Regions from separate parts of the Homo sapiens genome. Here region 2 is linked to region 1. The links are contacts of gene promoters, found by promoter capture Hi-C in blood cells and fetal thymus (Javierre and others, 2016). All regions are on one chromosome and are shown on one strand. The core of a region is centred on a gene start or on the middle of the fragment in contact, and the rest is flanking DNA. Distances in the headings are between cores, read along the strand shown. Region 1 holds the start of PTPRT-AS1 (PTPRT antisense RNA 1). Region 2 overlaps LOC101927182 (a long non-coding RNA gene).

Region 1 (3,158 bases), core at 601-3,100:
TCATGACGACTGGTGAGGGGGGTGCTAGCATTACCCCCATGTTCTATATAAGGGAACTGAGGCACAGAGAGGTTATGCAACTTGTCAAGGTCGCATAACTATTAAGTGGCTGACCCAGGATTTCAGCACAACCTGTCTAGCTCCAGGGTCTGTATAACCACTGTAGTGTGAGAAAATGTGATAATTTGATACTGGCTGACCATCAGCCAATTAATAGTCGTCTTTGTTTGCTTCTCATTGTAAAAGCGCAAGTCTGGATCCGAATCCTTGACTGGTAGTTACCTAAGACTGATGTTATTGTTGTGTTTGACTCTTGATTTGAAACACAGGTCTATATCCTGAGATTTATATTAATAAAGCATTGTAATTATGATCCGGATACCCTGGGGATTGCCTTGTACCTCGACTAAGAAGGCACATGCTTACTTCTTGCTCAAGAACAAACAGGGACTGAACTGCTGCGCTGGGAGGATGGGGCTGAGACCAGCTAGCAGGGGCATTTGTCAAAGGTAGCAAAGCCCACTGATTAACCGGGCCAGCTCTGGAGCAAGGCTGCCTAGATGTAAACCTTCATCTGCTGCTTTTGAGCTCTGTAACCTCAGGAAAGTTTCCTACCTTTTCTGAGCCTGTTTCCTCATCCATATAATGGGTTTAACAGGTTCTCAATTTCTTGTCTGCAGTCCTTGGGGCCAAATGTGCTCGGATTTAGATTTATTTAACTTTTAAAGGAAAGCAATATAGTAAATGTACCATATTTATTAATAACATCCCTCAGCAGAGGCTGTGGTAGCACCCTTAAATCAAGCATGTTGATATTTTTGTAGCAAAAAGTATGAATATTAATAGTAAGAAGGAGATAGAAAAAACTATTAGTCAATGTATATCACTTTAACTCAAATCTTAGCACCAAATAAGTCTGTACCAAACTTACGAAAAAATGTTTTGGTTTTCAAAGCTTTTGAGGATTCAGAATTCTTAAATCAGGGTTTGTGGATCTGCACCTGCCCCATAGGTTGATTTTATGGCTTACGTGGAGTAACGTCTTTACCTAGCACATTCCATAGTTCATAGTAAAGTGCTCAGTAATGTTATCTGTTATTATTTGTACATGTACGTTCAAATCATCATTGTTGAGCAGAGGCAAGTATAGCTGGCCGAGAGACCGGTGGTACTGGCTGGACTTTGGCTACCTTGTGGGCATAACTGCTGGATTCTGAGGCTCTGATCTGAAGCCCAGAGTACCTGGCTGCTCTTAGAACCCAGGTCCCCCTCTTCTGACTTGCACCAGCATTTTCACTGGGTTTTGGTTGTTCTGGTAAAGAAAGAAGGAAATAAATGAGAAGAATGCCTTTCCATCCTACCCCTAGGTGGATTCATCCTTTCTGCTGAATCTTTTCTTTTTTATGGCTATAAAATGAGGTGAAAATTGAGAACAATCACCAAAAGAGCATTTTCCTTTAGGCAAGTGTACGTGTGACACCCCATTAACGACAAGTGACATCTTCTTCTATCTAGCGGAAATCAACACAATATTCATGTTAACCAGTCATCGCTGGTGCCCGAAGCGGATGATGACTTGTCAGTTTCCATCCTATCAGTCATTTTCAGGCAAACTGTGTGTGTGGATTCCACATGGACACAGTCGAATGTTCACAACACCACTCATTTCTCTCTAAGTGCCTGATGGGTCCTCTACAACTAGAGCAGAGACGCAGGAGGGTCCCACTGGGGCAGATCAGAGGGCTGGAGATCAGAAGGCTTGTGATGACAGAAGGTGGATGGAAGAGGCAGGCAGACCTAGGCCCTGGTGCCCTGGCCTGCCATTCGCTGGCTGTGAGACTTCAGCTGATGTCCACAAGCCTCAGCTTCCTTGTGCATTGAGCTAATAGTAACTCATTACCTCACCAGGTCATTGTGAGGAGTAAATGAATGATGCATATGAAAGTGATTGATCAGCCCGGAAACTCCAGGAAATGCCAGTCTTGTTATGATGCATTTGCCTTCAGTGGACTTTTGATTTGCCCCATGGAGCCCATTTTCATAACTCGCAGCCGTTCCTCTTATGTCCTGGCACCCTTCTGCATTTAAGTCTCTCAGTGAGGTGTCCACTTATTAGTTCATTTGGAACTTTGCCAGTTTGTGTGTTCAACCGTACATCTGTGTCTTCACCTACCCACCTATCCATCTCTCTCTCCACTGGATCCCTGTTGTTTGCCTGGCTAAGATCTGGGATACAAAGATGAATCAGATAAGGATGAATCTTGCCCTAAAGGAGATCATAGGCTAATGGAGAAATGGACAGGTCAACAGATGAGTGGAGTCAGGTGGCCGTTGTTGCTGTAACTCAGGAGTGGGCTATCGACAATGGGATGCCAGAGGAGACAACTCCGCTCTGTTAAGTGTGGCAGTAGAGGTGGAGGGAAGAGCTAAAGGAAGTCCTCAAAAAGGATATGACAGTTGAACATAGACTTGAAAGGGGGAAGGGCTTACCCAGCAAAAGGAATAGCCTGTGACAGCCTTCCATAATCGGGGCTGAATGTGGAGGTCACTTCTGGCCAGGGGAGAGGGGATTTGGGGGAATTTGTCTTGGCAGATATAAGGGATGGGAGGCTAGCTGGGGCCAGGTGGTAGGAATTCACAAGCACAGACCGCGCATTCTCGATTTTATCCTGATGTCCCTCATTGGGTTGCCAGCATTGAGTGAAGTGTAGGGCAAGAACGTATCAGCCTTTGGTTTGAGTTTTGGAATTTCTTCCTGACATCTGGTAGCGGGGGTGGGCTTGGAGAGGGCGAGGCTGAAGGCAGCGAGGGCAATGAGGAGGCTGCTGCGATGGTTTGAATAACAGCCTAGGAGGGAAGGAGGCAGCATGTGGGGGTGGGGGAATACAAATGCCACAAAGGTATTAGGGGGCTGGTGAATGGGGTTGGTCACTGTTTTCGGTTCGTAGGGCTGTAGTAACAAATTACCATCCATTTGGTGGCTTAAAACAACACAAATTTGTTCTCTCACAGTTCTGGGGTCCACAGTCTGAAATCAAGGTGTCAGCAGGGCTGCACTTCCTTGGAGGCTCTAGGGGACAATCAGTTCCTTGTCTCTTCCAACTTCTGGTGGCTGTCAGCGTTCTTTGTGGCCGCATCATTGCCCTCTCTGCCTTGAT
Region 2 (3,635 bases), core at 511-3,010, 1.0 Mb after region 1:
TGAAGTCAAATTAGGTCCTCCTTTGGCTCAGACTCTCTGCTGGCTTCCCCGGTCACTCCAGTAAAGCTGGCCTTCACAGTGGTCCACAAGGCCCTGAACAAGAACACCGCTATCCGTGACTTTCCCCTTACCTTTCAGTTATATTCCAACATTACCTCTGAGGTAGACCTTTTCTGGCTACCCCATTTAAAAAGCCCCTACCCTCTCTACCTCTGGAATTCCTTAGCCCCTTTCCCTGACATATTTTCTTCTTGGTATCTATTCCCAACCAAGCTACTTTAAATATTATTTCTCTTGTTTATTTTCTGTCTTCTCCCACCCAACATCCGGCCTTGGGCAGAGATTCCTGTATCTTTATACACAGCAATATCCCCAGGGCCTAGATTAGGTCCTATCGTAAGTAACTGCTTAATAAATATTCATTGAAAGGATAAATAAATGTCTCCACCTACTACACTGTCAGCTTCATGAAGGGGCCATGGAAAGGATTTAAGCTGGGAAAGAACATATATTTATGCTTCAGAACATGCATAATTCTGTGTCCTCCTGGAAGGTGGGCTGCAGGCAGGAAGTCCAGTGAGGAGGCTGCGGTAAATCCCATACAAAGAAGGCTGAGACCAGAATCACAGCAGAGGCAGTGGGCATGGAGAGGAAAGGACAACTGGAGAGCTGCTCAGGAGGTTGAATCCACAGGGATCCATGAACAATCAGGAAAGAGAGGCATGAATGCTGTCCCCCACCACCCAGATGCCTGGTTTGGCTGATTTGGTAGACAGTGGTAAAATCATTGGTTCAGTCACAGGAAGAGACCAGTCAGGGGCTAGGCCTGGGTAAAAGGATGGGTTTGAAGGAAGCTTGAAAGCAGGGATCCAACGTCACTCTTTGCAACTGAAGCTTGTCTTAAAGTAATGCCATGCTCAGAATGTCTGTGCCTCCTCACTAGGGTCCATATCCCCATTTTTGCCAAACCCAACAGATTTCCTATGAGCAAACAATAAATTATCAGAAAACAAGAGGGATTGTCTCTATCAATCTATACATTTGTTAAAGTAAGAAACCTCAATGATATTGACATGGATTTTGATTTAAATGATTTTGGATTTGATTGAGGGGAGATACATAAGAATAGACCAAATTTTTTCTTTTAAAAAAATAAGCGGGGGTGGGGGCAAGACAAAGAGGCAGGGAAGAGGAGAAATTGGATATACTAGAATGTCAACGTGTTGTAATTAAAACAGTCCATTGCTGATGTAGTGAAAGATTAGAGTTCAGAAACAAACCTAAGTACACATGAAAATAGGAAAACAATGGGCTTCTCAATAAATAGTGTCATGACAACTAGCCAGAAAGTGAGGGAGATTAATGCTGAGTCCCTGCCTCCACAGCACAGCAAAACCAACTCCAAATAGATCAGAAAGCTTAATGTTAAAAATAAATAAATAAATAAAAGCACTAGAAGAAAACAAGACTAAATGCTTTTTTTTTTAACTCTTAGGAAAGAAGATGTCTTCTAAACATAATACCAGAGACAATGCATGGAAAAGTAGAGAAACATAGCTACATAAAAATTTAAAACCTCTTCATGACAATGAACACCATGTATAAAGCCAAAAAAAAAATTAAAACCTGGCAAAAAGTATTGGTAATATATATTATAAAGGGTTAATAGTCTCACTACAAAAACAATTTTTGTAAATTAGACTTTTAGCAACATTGGTAGACTGATCCGTGACAGAGGTCCCTGTCTACCACCGAAAACCCACAAGAGTGTGGGAATTAAAATAATTAATATTTAAAATATATAGGTTCACTCGAAAGACAGGAAAATCTCTAGAGTGAAAATAAATGAAAAGAAAACTCAAAGCCAGAATGGAAAGTGTTTGAACCATGACATCTCCCCCCCAGGAGGTGGGTGCATGGCCCCAATGGTTAGGGACTGGGATTTTAATGCCAACTTTGGGATAGGACATGTGGCCTTAGGTCCCAGTTAGCAAAGTAATGGAACTGAGACCGCTGTAAAATCAGGACCCTAAAAAAATCCCCTCCATGGAAAGGGCTAGAACAACTCTGCCCACTGTTCTGGAAACTGCAAAGAAGCTTGCACCTGCACAGGGACGTGGCTGAAAGCAGAAAGTTTCCCTAAGAAGTCGAAGCCCAAAGCCTATACCATGCAGTGTAGAGTGTAGAGTCGAGGCTTATATATTTGTGTGATGAGAGATTTCAACACTAATAAATTATTATAGGAGGTCATCCCAGGTTGGTGAAGTCCCGAGGGCCCCAGTAAACACAAAAACTTTTTTGAAAGAAGCTTCCACAACCCAGGCACATGGCACTCTGTGGGAGTGGGAAGAGACAGGGGATTCCTGGAGGTAAACTCCGTATCTAAAATTAAATCTATAAGAATAAAATCAACAGGCAATTCAAACACACAATGCACATGGCATTGTGTGTTTGATCTTCACCCTTCATGAAAAGATCTTCACCCTCCACAGTAATGAAAGAAATGCAAATAAAAATGGCCTTTATTCACTTCTCAGACTGATAAAGATTTGAGACATTTACCATGAGCAAAGACACAGGACACATGAGCATTACTTTTTCCCAAAGGTAAACACATAATAACTTTATAGCAGAAAACAGCAAGCTAGAGGTATGGCATGTGGGCACTAGTTTTCTGGCGCAAAGTTACCCCTGCTGGGCTGCCGATTTTTCTGGTTCTTTGTTGGGTCATATTGCTACTCCTCTTCCAGTGGAGAGCACAGGGGTAAGACATTTCCAGTCAATGAGGTTCCCTTTTATGACTGATGGCATCTAACAGACTGCATTTTCTGTTTGTTTGTTGGTTGGTTTGTTGGTTGGTTTTAATAATTTATTGAGGTAAAATTCACATAACATAAAATTAGCCATTTTAAAGTGAACAATTTAGTGGCATTTAGTACATTTACAATGTTGTGCAACCACCACCTCTATCTAGTTCCAAAACATTTCTGTCACTCCAAAATCAAATCCCATACCCACTGAGCAGTCACTCTCCATTTCCACATTCCCCTTCTGTCCCTAGAAATCACCAATTGCTTTGTGTCTCTATGGACTTGTCTATTCTGGGTATTTCGTAAAAATGGAATCATACAATACATGATCTTTGTGTCTGGTTTCTTTGACCTTAGAGTAATGTTTTGGAGGTTCATCCACACTGTAATATGTATCATTTTTTTATTCCTATTATGGCTGAGTAATATTCCATTGTATGGATATGCTACAATTTGTTTATTTGTTCATCTCTTGATGGACATTAAGGCTCTTTCCACCTCTTGGTATTGCAAATAGTCCTGCTATTAACATTTGTGTACAAGTACTTGTATGATACCTGTTTTCAATTCTTTTGAGTACACATCTGGGACTGAAATTGTGGGGTCATATAATAAACCTATGTTTAACTTTTCAAGGAGCCACCAAACTGTTTTCTACAGTGACTGAGTCATTTTATATTCCCACTATCAAAGTACAAAGGTTCTAATTTGTCCACATCCTCAACAACATTTATTATTTTCCATCTTTTGTTTTAAAATTATAGCCATCCCAGTGGGTGTAAAGTGTTACCTCATTATAATTCTAGATGCTATTGTAAATGTCAT

The links. The method cuts DNA at HindIII sites, captures the fragments that hold promoters and counts their contacts. A CHiCAGO score of 5 or more calls a contact.
Region 2: a contact is called between a fragment that was not itself captured here and the fragment with the promoter of PTPRT-AS1 in region 1, in 1 of 17 cell types (M2 macrophages). The highest score is 6.1, in M2 macrophages.

Annotation. Positions count from the first base shown.
Region 1 is chr20:42,967,435-42,970,592 of GRCh38, reverse strand. PTPRT-AS1 (PTPRT antisense RNA 1) reads right to left here and starts at 1,850. Exons shown (of 2, transcript NR_149017.1): 1 at 932-1,850. All of the region lies in intron 1 of PTPRT (protein tyrosine phosphatase receptor type T), which reads left to right. The HindIII fragment of the contact is 3,440 bases long and covers 958-3,158 here.
Region 2 is chr20:41,947,342-41,950,976 of GRCh38, reverse strand. The region is part of intron 1 of LOC101927182 (a long non-coding RNA gene); the gene reads right to left. Among named protein-coding and RNA genes, the nearest start is that of CHD6, 330 kb to the right of the region's middle. The HindIII fragment of the contact is 679 bases long and covers 1,421-2,099 here.